Regions from separate parts of the Homo sapiens genome. Here regions 1 and 3 are each linked to region 2. The links are contacts of gene promoters, found by promoter capture Hi-C in blood cells and fetal thymus (Javierre and others, 2016). All regions are on one chromosome and are shown on one strand. Each heading gives the region's core, a stretch centred on a gene start or on the middle of the fragment in contact. The rest is flanking DNA. Distances are from core to core; before and after follow the strand shown. Region 1 overlaps COL19A1 (collagen type XIX alpha 1 chain). Region 2 holds the start of COL19A1 (collagen type XIX alpha 1 chain). Region 3 overlaps COL19A1 (collagen type XIX alpha 1 chain).

Region 1 (3,645 bases), core at 526-3,025, 300 kb before region 2:
TGCATTTTTCTGTTTCTGTGCTTCACTCACTCAATTCACATCTCTAAAAGCAAGGAACACACTTCAATCAGTTTTTATTCTTCATCCTTTGTTGTAGCTAAGAAATTTGAAGACTAATCTCTTCAAATTCTACTCAAATAGGTCTACATTTTTGTTGCCAGCCCCTTTTCAATGCCAGTAAATTATAATTTATCCTTTATTATAATACTTAAAAAGTTCTTATCTTAATCTGCAGTTATTAATGCAAGAACTTCAAAGAATGTTCCCAAAAAGTCAGTGAGAAGCCTAGGTGCTTTTAAATGATTCAGAGAAGCTGTTTTGTGTGTATGAGTATGAGAGGGAAAGACCAGGAGGAAATTTTTATCAACAAGATGTAAGAAAATTAAAATTAGAATGAAGCGTATAGTTGGTTTCAGGTAAAGATAGGGTAGACAGGGTGAATGAATAGTAAAACAAAGGAAACTGAATTACAGAATATGATCCTAACTAGTTGAAACAATGCTTTCAGGGGATAACAATTTGGCTTTTAATATATATTGCCCAATAACAAAATCAAACAGCTCTTTAATGCATCTCTTTAAAATATGTTTTTAGACATAAAAACATTACTTGTTATGACTTGTCCCTTTGCTGGTTTAAAATTTATTCATTGAGTTTTAACAAACTGTACTATAATGAAAAGGCTTTAAATTTTTTTTCACATGGCAATGGAAAGTGTTTTGAAAATTTATTTCAGCTTTAGGTACATTTGAGTTTCAAGTATATACCCAAAGGTTAAAATATATACAAATGAAACATGAAGGATATGCTTGAAAAAGACATGACAGGAGAAAATGCCCAGCAATAAAGGGCATCTAATTGAATTTGGCAGAACTTTTACAGAGGCTCCATGGTTCAGAAAGATGCTGAGAACAATTATCGTCCTTTAGGCGGCTGGAGGACATGATCTCCTTCCATGCTGAGCATAACCTCCTGATACATTCCTCCTAATAAGCAGCCTTATGACAAAACATATCTCCTGCAAAATAATTGCCTAAGACGTTTAAAGCAAATAAACAGTTCCTTTTTTTTTGTTGGGGAGATGGCAGATATATTAAGGGATTTCTTTCCAGTAAGTATTTCTCTTCCACAATCTACTTAAAATTGAATCAATTATCAGAAGAGGGCTATTAGAAGAAAGTGCCCCATTTATCAGAGTTTATATGTGTCTTCCTCCATCACAGGATGATTTTAAAAACACACTGACGGAAAGAGACAAACCTCAAGGGCAGTGACAACATCAGGACTAATGCATCTCAGAAACAGAGAACATATTGCTGGCATTTATATTGTGGCCTGCTTGTCACCACCAGCATGTTAATTGATGAACACCTAAGAAGGCAGGCCATTTTGCCCGATGCTTTTCTTTCAAAATTTAACAAAGACCAATATTCTAAATGACACAAAACATGGGAACATTCATACCACTGGGCCAGGATCGCCTTTTGGGCCCTGTAAGAGAAACATGGAAAGTCATTTTTCAAATAATGACCAAAGCAGTTACAGAATAAGAAACACTGTTGTCCAATTTGCCTTAATACACATACGAATATTAGCAAGTTTTGCTTTAATTACAGTTTGAATTTGAAGAATAAGATGAATAAATATAACTTGATGGAAATTTCATAAAAATGATTGCTTGGACATTGACTTAGTTCTTAGATTTGCAATGAAAAAAGTGACACCACCATGAAAAATGCTGTTTTCCATTATTTTGGCTGCATACATTTTCTCAATTTTATTATAATTGGTTTTACTTATTTCCTTCTGCTGTAAAATTTGGCTGTATTCATAACATGCGTTTTTCAGTGAACTTAAGAGGTTTTTATTGTTTGTTTTTCATTGTGGTTGTTCAGCTAAAGTGTGTTTGATGATAAACAACTGTACTTACAGGAGGACCGGGTGGCCCTGGGTAACTGGGAACATTCACACCTCCCTTCAAAAGAAAATGAAAAGAAAAGAAAAAGAGAAAGATGAGACGAATTTACAGCAGTCTATAACTGGATTTTAAATAATTACAAATATAAATACCTTAATTTTATATAAACTGCTCATGCCGTTTCGTTCATTAAATGGAATACCCTTAGGAAAGAGGTGAGATACAGAATTATTCTTGGAAGTTAATACTTTGCATCTCTACATTTTATCATTTTACCAAATGATACTATTCCTATTCTATTTTTTACTTTTTTCTATTCTATTTTACAAAGGGAATTTAATACTCTAAGTAAAATAATACATTTTAATTTTTAGCTTTTCCAAAGCAAATGCAGGGAAATGAAAAGGGAGTGTGAGCTACACCTGAAGCACACGGATACTTTCAGTTGGGGTTTAATTAATGTTCAGGTTTGACAGATGAGACACTAATGCATTTGGAGGAAAATATTTGCTCATTAAAATTCAGTTTCTGAATTGTCAATTTATACTAACTGTTTACAGCCTGCTAACCTGCAGGCTATAATGCCATAGTGCTGATGAAGATGTGAATAGGGAACAATTTGGCTACTGAAAAGTAATTTTTTTCCACAGTCTTTTCATACCAAATAGAAAATTAAGGTAAATGGGGAGATGACATTATCCACAACCCTGTGTGGATGTTTCTACAAAAATAAATTCTTTAGGATAAAAGAGAATAAGAACATCTTGAAAAAAATTGACATGTCCTAGAGTAACCAACACTTAAAGGAGAACTTATTCTATAGTTTAAAAAAATCATACATTTTAGCATTTAGGAAAAATTTCCATATAAAAATTTTAGTTAGAATCTTTTGTCTTTCTTTTTAAACATTTGTATAGAATCAATAGTCAAATCTGCCTTTTCCTTTCTGCAGTTTTCACATATCAGTTGCAGAGTTGAAGAAGTCACTGTTTCATTGTTTCTGTATGATGGTGGCCAGTAGTGTTCTGTGAAGACAATTTGCATGCATCTTCCAAACACTAGTGATGGAAGACAAACGCTCCATCCATTTATTACTCTATTATTTAACTCATTTATCTGACAGCGACTGAATGTCTGCCATATTTTAGTGTGCTACGTCCTGGAGAGACAAAGGATATTTTCATCTGAGATTTCCAAAGGAGGTTTCCCAGGGAAGAAAACATTTAAACTGTGTTTTGAAGGATGGATGGTTTTGGAGAATTCAGAGGGAAGACAAAGACATCTTAAGTGCATTATAAAATTATAGGTCCCTTTCATGAACTCATGTTATATTTGCTGTTCTGCCCACGGGGGAAGGAGTGAATTTTAGGATTTGAACCCTAATACTTTCCGTCCTGCTTTCTTGTCAAGGGAAAAGGTCAGTAACACAGATGAACAGATTTAGGAAACAAGTTTAGGAAATAGAGTGCTAATCTCTTCATTTACGTGTACAAAGCATGCAACTGCACGCAGACTGATAATAATCCTCATTGTCTTCGGAAAGTCACGGTCAATTCTGCCCTTTCTATGGTGAGTTTGGTTTCTTAAAGTATTCCTGTGAGGTGGGGTAGAAAAGGGTGTTTTGCGTGATATCTCAGCTCGGCTCGGCTGCGATTCGAGCGTGGCCCCACATGAGGGCAGACTTGCCACGGAGAGAGGCTCCTCTCCTCTCCACCGTTTCCCTGACG
Region 2 (3,864 bases), core at 290-2,789:
GTGTGCGTTTGTTTCATCTCCTCCATTAACAGGCAGATGTAAATTCCCCTACAGCAGAGTGATTATCCTCACATCTTAATCCTCCTCAGACTTATCCAAGCAGAAGATGGGACTGAGTCGTCTTGGAATTGGGGATTGAGGGAGGTGGCGCAATTTATTTCCCTTACTCTTCCATCTCCCAATCTCAAGCTGTGGCCGATGATCACTCTCTTGCCTCTATTCACGGATTGTTCTATTAAAACTACTTATTATCAGCATTCTGGGCCCTCCTCTTTTTGCTCTCCAGCCCACTGTCCCCTGAGGCTGACAAGGCACGCTGGTCCCCTCTGCCTCTTCACCTTCTCATCAAATGAAGCTCCTCGGGGGCTCCTGTGGCACCCGCCTGTCCCCCAGCTCCTCTGCCCACCCTCTTGCCGGCTTCCCGCTCCCTCCGTAACCTCTAAGGGGGTTCGCTTACGCGCCCGCCTGCTCTCGGGGAGCTAGCGTGCCCGACGGCGTGCTTGGTTCCGGGCCAACAAACTTCCTCGCGACCCTGCAGCGCCCTAGCTGGGCCGCCCGGCGCCGCCTCCTGGTTCTCGGCCGCTGTGGCTGCGGCGCCGGCGCGCTCTCGGCGGTGGCCTCGGGACTCTGACAGCGGAGGCGGCAGAGGCTGGGGCCGCGTCTTCCTCGCGCCGCGACTGGGACGTTCCGGCGGCGGCGGCGGTGGCTGCAGGGAGGACTGCGGGGACGGCGGCGGCGCTGTGGCCGACCGCGCTGCGCATGCTGCAGGGTAATTAAGGAACAGGGCCGGACGCTCCGGAACGTGGTGGGGCTGGAGTCCGGGAATCCCCGCCCGCGCCCGCGCCGCCCCCCAGAAGCCGCACTTGGGAAAAACACCCACATGTGGAGTAGGTAACCCCGGGCCGGAGGGCACCGCACCGGAACCCCGCGTCTCTTAGCTTACGCCGCTTAACTGGCTGCCTCGCTTCCAGGGCTAACACCGTCAAAAAAAAAAAAAAAAAGCGCTCTAACGGCATGAATTGATAGTGAGTTTGTTTTACTCCTTTAACCCCCCATTTTTTTTGTAATGTATTTGATGTCTGTCCCTACCCGCATCAGCAGTGCTCCATAGTTCCGCTTCACAGACACACATAGCCAGAAAAACCACCTAGAACTTAGGTGTAACGCATGAAGCCTGCATCATGTGAACATAGGAACACGAACTACATGGTATGTACCACATGAGAGTGGCCGTCTCCTGCCAAACGTTTTTGGTCCCATCCTTAAGGCCCCTATGGAAACGTATGCAGGTGTGCATTATTTATCCACCTAAACATATTTCCATGTGTAGCACAGTTTTTACATTTTCTTGAAAAGCAGATGCACACAGATAACTAGGAACACGAGCAGATGACATAGCCCGGGCATGTGTGAGAGGGCAAGTGCAGAGCCGGTCGCAAAGCCGCGCAGCTTACCTTGAATTCGTATTTGAGCCCCTCAGAGGCGCAGTGGAGTCCGGACAGGGCTGCGGCACCGCCGAGGAGTGAGCTCCCTGCGAGTGGGGAAGGGGGACGCATCTCTGCCCTTATTAGTCTCTCCCAGTGTGACCCTCCCACTCCGCGAGGACAGAGGACTCTGCAAGAAGGTACTCAGCCAACTCAGGCACAGGTTTTCTTTAATGACAGCGATGTCGCCTTAGAGCTGGGAGTAATGCCTTTCAGGTTTATGTTTTACTAGCAGTTTCACAGATAAAATGACGGTTGGATGCAAATGCCTAGAGTTTCTCACTTCTGATCATGAAGTGTCTTCAAAGTATTATTGTATGTGGCAAACGTTCACGAGTAGGTAATTGGCTTTTTAACGGTTGAGCTAAGAAAATATATCATTTATGTTTCATTTTTTCACTTTTATGTCAAGAGTTTATATAAAGTTGATTAAGGCAGTCTGCCCACCTTCTAATCACGCTCATATGTAAACGTTTGTGTGGCTTGGTTTTTCTCAGTGTCCACAGAAGTATTTTGTGATTTTAAATACATCTTTCCATGGGTTGGTGCTTCCAATCTTGGCTTTTGAACTCTTTTGGGATCCCTTTGAATATGTGAAAGTGTCATTTTCCTGCAGATTTCTGTGTAGGTGCATGTATGTGTGTGTAGAGAGAGTATATATATATTTGTAGGCATATATAGTAGGTTTATATACATATATAGGAGGTATATATGGATACTTGTAGGCATATATATTTGTAGGTATATATACATATATAGTAAATTTATATGTATACATATAGTGTATGCATATGTATGTGTATATATGAAAAACAGAATGATTTATAGAATTCAGAAGAGTAAACCAGGCATTAGAAAACAGATAAACTGGTTTTACATTTTTATTTCAGTATTGCCACAGTGGGAGAAATAGGATAAATTATATTATTGATCCACAATGGTGAAAATCATCAAGCTTAAAAGTTACCTTAGAACCATAGAAATACACTTCACATATCAGAGCTCACAGATCAAGGAATAAATAAAATCAGGCAGGCAAAAAATAAAGATGTTAAGAAAAATGTTAAAAGATAGCTCCTTTCCACTTCATTGGAGTGAAACCATTAAAGTATCACTTGTGATTTTTAAACTTCTCTCTCAACCTAATCAAGATACCTGCAGTTTTAGAGTTCGGCATTCATGGTGATGCAAACCATGTTTCTATGTCAGGATTTAAAACCACTTGATACATTTCCTTCTCATATGATTTTCATCACTAATTTTTGGCTGACTGTGGAAAGAGGCCAAGGAGGGAGGATATTGCATGAGTCACGCTACTCAAATGGCCATTTGAAAAACATGATTCACAAACCTTCATTAGACTTTTGGTGATCAGTCTCTATTTTTTTGAAGTATTATCCCATTTGATTTTTTTCTTTCTCTAAGCAATTTTACTTTATATACCTTGCCATCACTAATGAATTGAACTAAGAGCATCCAGGCTTTATTTCTTTGTCAGACTATTAAATTCACCTTATTTACACTTAATTGAAACTATTTAAAGTAATGCTTTAAAACTACCTAAAAGGAAGTCCACAATTTTGTCTCTAATTTTTGTTTTAATACAAGTAAATCAAGTTTATCTTAGAATTATTTTCTTAAACATTTTAATAATTTCATAATTGTTAAGATATTTGAGAGAGCTAAACACTTATATTTTTGTTTATATTTCAAAATGGCCCTTTTCTTATTTCTAATATTGACCCAAGCAAGATTTTGGAAGAAAGTGAAAAATGAATAAATAAAACTTCAAATTATTATTATCTGTTGCTTATTCTGTTTCTAGATACACCAACATCCCCAGGGCAACAAATATTTCTCTATTTTTCTTTCAGGAAAGGGTTTGAATCTAGGCTGGTTTCATGATTACAAACTATTGTATACCTAGGGTTTGCTTCTTTAGCCAGTTCTTTTTATTGAATTTTAAAGTGACTTCAATTAGGAAGAACCTTTAGCCAAACACCTTTTATTTATCTAAGCCAAATACAATTATAAATGATCCGGTTTTCTTCTTGCTTCTGAAGCTACTGCTGGTAAACAAACATCTGAAAATATCAGGGGAATCTGACAGCACTCTAAGTTTTAATAAACAGCTTGCAGCACTTCTAACACCAAGTTCATCTGTGTGCACGTATGTACTTAAAAAATTTAACAGATTTAAAAAACGAACTTCTTTCAACATTTATGCCTAAAGGAAGATACAATTAAATGTTTTTATGTCATGTGAGGGATAAATTCCATTGAAAACATTTTAAAAAACTGTTCCATATTTGTAATGCCCCACTGATATAAATTTAACAATTTACAATGATCATTGTACCATTTTTTATAATTTGGATTT
Region 3 (4,003 bases), core at 93-2,592, 270 kb before region 2:
TTCTGTTTGGGCCTTCTGATTATTATGCAAAGTAAAGTCTACATCCTGTTCTGGAAGAGAAAGTTTGAGACCATAAAAAGCTAAACTGCTCTCCGTAATAATGTAAAATTTGCGTTGTTTTAATGTAGGGGTAGAGGAAGGTGGCAAGTAAAGATGTATGGGGTGGTGGGATAATTAAGGGATGAATAGGGACCTGGTATGGAGAAGAGTTAGGAGGAAAAGAAGCTCTATTTAAGGAAAACAGGGCTAAAGGCAGTCCTCATGAGATACATGGACTGCCCTTGAAAGTTAGCCAGAAAGAAAGCCAGAGGAAATCCCTGCAGGAGGAAAAGGCCTATGACTCCTAGGAACTATGAACTCCTTCAACCCTTGCTGCTTAAAGTGTGGTCCATGGACCAATAACACCAGCATTACTGAGAGCTTATGAGAAACACAGACTCTCTGGTCCTGCTTCCAAACCTACTGACTTAGAATCAGTGGGATTCAAGTGCATGTTCACATTTGAGAAGCACCGCTCTAACTCACTGAAAGTTTCTCCTTTCTGCTCTAAAAATCCTCGATTTTCCAGTAAAATTTTTATTAATCTTACTGCAGGGTCCTCCATGCATCATGTGGAAATTAAGAGAAGGTTGGTGTCAGTGTTCAGGTTTGGAGGGAAGACAGTGGAGACCTAGAGAAGCAGCTAAGAGATGGTAAGAGGAACCTCCAAGTGTGGAGCACCTAGAGAGTTGGCAGGTACCAGGGGCATGCACCAGGCTGGATTTCTGAGACATGAGATTTTCCAGACATTATTGCAAATACTCAGTTGGAGAACCTCATTAAAGACTGCCAAATCCTGTAGTTGTGTAAGAAGGCTTGAACTGAATACTAAGGGCAAGCACGACTCCTGAAGGTAGAAGAACTGGGGTACATAGGCCACAGACTGATTCTAAAGCTGCAAAAATTACTGTCATTGTTAATTTTTTAAAGCTGAAGCATAGGGAAAATTTGGCTTTGTAACACTGAATACTTTAAATAATGTTCCTGTTTGTCATGCAGGCAATTTAGTGACCTCTTCATGTTTTATCCCCTGATAAACCAATATCCTTTATTCAGTCTCGTAAAGAAAGGGGTAGAGTGGTTTAATAAGATGTATTACTTTTCTTTAAACAAAGATGAAACATTTGTTAAGCCTGATTCTCACTGATTCTTGAAAACTGCTTTTTTAAAAGAAGCATTAAAACAAGTCATTTTTTGTACCTATGATTTCTCTAATCACTTTAGGTGGTCCTATTTGAATATAAATGATACTGTAGGGTTTTTCTCTTTTTCCCCACAAAAAGAACTACATTTTGAAAGAAACTGGCCACAGTAATACCAAAAAGTGGTTGGGAAGCCACTTTGATCATACAAAAATCAAGAAAGAAAAATAACTTCAGAAGGTACACTGAGAACAGTTGTTTGAGCAGAAAGATGTGTTTCCAATTTCTTTTGGATAAATTTGTACTAGTCTTTTGATACATTGATTTTATTATTTTAGCTGCAGTGTTTAGTTATACCAGAGGAGCTTTGTGATTTTAAACTTTAGGTTCTAGAATCAACTCACCTAGGTGTGATTCACAGCTCCAATGCTTAGTACTGTGTGACTTTGGGCAAAGTTTTTTAACCTCTTTATGCCTTACTTTCATCATTTGAAGTATGCAGGTGATAATAGATGACCTTATGGAAACTTTTTATGGATTAAGTGTGTAAATACATGTAAGAGACTTAGTGCATAGCGTAGCTAGTACTTGCTTGAAGATCTGATCTGTTGTTTCCCATGACAGGATCAACCAAGGCACGTGGAATTGGGGCTGATTTGGAAACGTATTTTTAATCCCGTTTTTTAGATATTCTTCCTCTGTCCTCAAAGCTAAAATACTTACAGGTTCTCCTTTTTGTCCTTTAGGGCCAACAGACCCTGGAAATCCTGGTAGTCCAGTTTCACCCTTTCAAGACAAAGCAGAAGAGAGATTTTGCAGATGGTTAGAGAAGCATTATTGTGACTGTCAGATACAGAATGATTGCTTGCTCTCCTGCTAACTATACAATTTATCTATTAGCATCCAACAGACAATGCAAAGTTCTGAATCTACTTAGGCTATTTTTATGATAATGTGTTTGTCAGTACTTCACAATGGCTTTATGTCTTTTAGAAATCCATATATTTCATTATGATACTTAAATGTAATGTGAAACAAAGTTAATTATTTTTCCAGGAAAGAATATCTATCTAGAGGAGAAAAATTATAATTTTGTTCTGGTGTGCCAAAACCAATTTTTTTTGTGTGTGATCTCAAAGACATCAGACTGTTTAACTGGCACAATAATCCAGACTCATTTTATTTCAGGCACTTTTTTCTTTGTTTAGGTGGGCAGAGTCAGCAGTTATATGAAGCAAAACGAGTCTCTCAGCTGTTTCCAGGGTTTATAATGCTACTTAGATGATTGGCTGTGGGCAAATAAGGCATTCTTGTAGATGTGGTGACAGCAGTAGCTTAGAAATGTCTAAGAGGTTCTGGTCAAAAACCTTGAAGAGAGATCTGTATGTGACATATAAAGAGTGTTTTTGGAAAATATAATTTGAGAAGTAATACTTAAGAAAGGAGTTATATCACTAATGAGACTTCAGAGGAGTCTCAGCATTGTGCATCCTTTTAGTGTTTACCAAGATCTCTGAATACCTACACAATTCTTAAATTAAACATAGTCTCTAGAAGATATGTAATGCTGATTTTTTTTCCCTAACTTCAAGAGCATTTTTGCAAAATGATGTTCACCATTACATTTCTGAGCATATACCGTTTTTGCCTACCTGGCCTATTTTTTTACTTCAAAAGAATAAATACAGAAAACATAATAAAGTAGAATACACCAAGCCTTCATGTACCAGGTACCCAAAATGAAAGAAATTAAAAAATTTACAAAGAAGAAATCCCCTATATTTCCTATTTCCACCCAGAGGGAGCCACTCTCAAGAATTTAGTATTTATATTTTCAGTTTATATTATTGTACTTTTACTGCATATGTGGAATCATAAACAATATATTATTGAATATTTGAAACAAATTCCATAAATAGCTTTATCTCATAAATAACATACTATGACTTGTTTTTTCCACTCAGCATTGTTTTTAATATCCATCTCTATTGATACATATGATCTCATTCATTCATTATAACAGATGAGTAGCATTCTAACATGTTAATAAACCAGCGTTTATCTCAGCCCCACCGATGGGCACTTTGATTGTAATCAGCTTTTCTCTATTATAAACAAGGCTGCAGTGAACATCTCTAATCCTGACCCCTGTGGATGTGCCTAATTGTTCATTTTGAAGCCTCAAACAGCTACCAAAAAGTGCTTCAAGTATAAATTTACTACAGCCCTAAAATCTTTGGCTTATTTTTATATGTATATCCTAATCCATGTCTTGTGATTTTCTGTAATGGATAGACAAGATCATGTTTGTATTAATTAGTCTTCTAGATTTATGGAATACGTTTTGTTTAATTTAATCTTAATTTTACTAAAATTTTAAAACCTCATGTGATAGTATAACTGTGGAACCAGCCCAAACAGGGCCTACTCTGTTGATAACAAAATGTCAAGTTACCTTTAAGGTATAACAGAGCCCAAAACTGCAAGTCATGCAGCCTAGGCACGCATAACAGAAAAAGCTTTGACTTGTAACAACAGCTGGAACCAACAATTCCACCCCCTGGGTGGAACCAAGAAGACCGGGACATGACCAGAACCTGAACTCTTTCAGAAGCATGGAAGTCCATTAGCCTGGAATATCCAGGGCAAAAATCTGCCTCAACATACCTTACCATAAATGGTCAAATTTGAAGCTGTCCAATCAGATTCTGCCAAACTAACATCCCTAAATCCCGTCCCTTGCCCTCTGATCCCTTAAAACTTGCCCCAATCCCCAAATCCAGGAGGCAAATTTAAGCCCAATTCCGGTCTCTTTGCTGGCT

The links. Contacts are between HindIII fragments. The CHiCAGO score rates a contact against its expected background, and 5 or more counts as called.
Region 1: a fragment that was not itself captured here is called in contact with the fragment with the promoter of COL19A1 in region 2 in 2 of 17 cell types (naive B cells and total B cells); the score reaches 5.8 in naive B cells.
Region 3: a contact is called between a fragment that was not itself captured here and the fragment with the promoter of COL19A1 in region 2, in 1 of 17 cell types (total B cells). The highest score is 5.5, in total B cells.

What each region holds. Positions count from the first base shown.
Region 1 is chr6:70,166,501-70,170,145 of GRCh38, reverse strand. It overlaps COL19A1 (collagen type XIX alpha 1 chain), which reads right to left. Exons shown (of 51, transcript NM_001858.6): 38 at 2,071-2,121; 39 at 1,931-1,975; 40 at 1,465-1,491. Among named protein-coding and RNA genes, the nearest start is that of COL9A1, 130 kb to the left of the region's middle. The HindIII fragment of the contact is 5,357 bases long and covers 1-3,645 here.
Region 2 is chr6:69,864,231-69,868,094 of GRCh38, reverse strand. It overlaps COL19A1 (collagen type XIX alpha 1 chain), which reads right to left and starts at 1,539. Exons shown (of 51, transcript NM_001858.6): 1 at 1,455-1,539. RefSeq lists silencers at 502-571, 582-631, 852-901. The HindIII fragment of the contact is 9,714 bases long and covers 1-2,441 here.
Region 3 is chr6:70,135,649-70,139,651 of GRCh38, reverse strand. COL19A1 (collagen type XIX alpha 1 chain) reads right to left here. Exons shown (of 51, transcript NM_001858.6): 19 at 1,905-1,967. Among named protein-coding and RNA genes, the nearest start is that of COL9A1, 170 kb to the left of the region's middle. RefSeq lists an enhancer at 3,940-4,003. The HindIII fragment of the contact is 4,720 bases long and covers 1-3,702 here.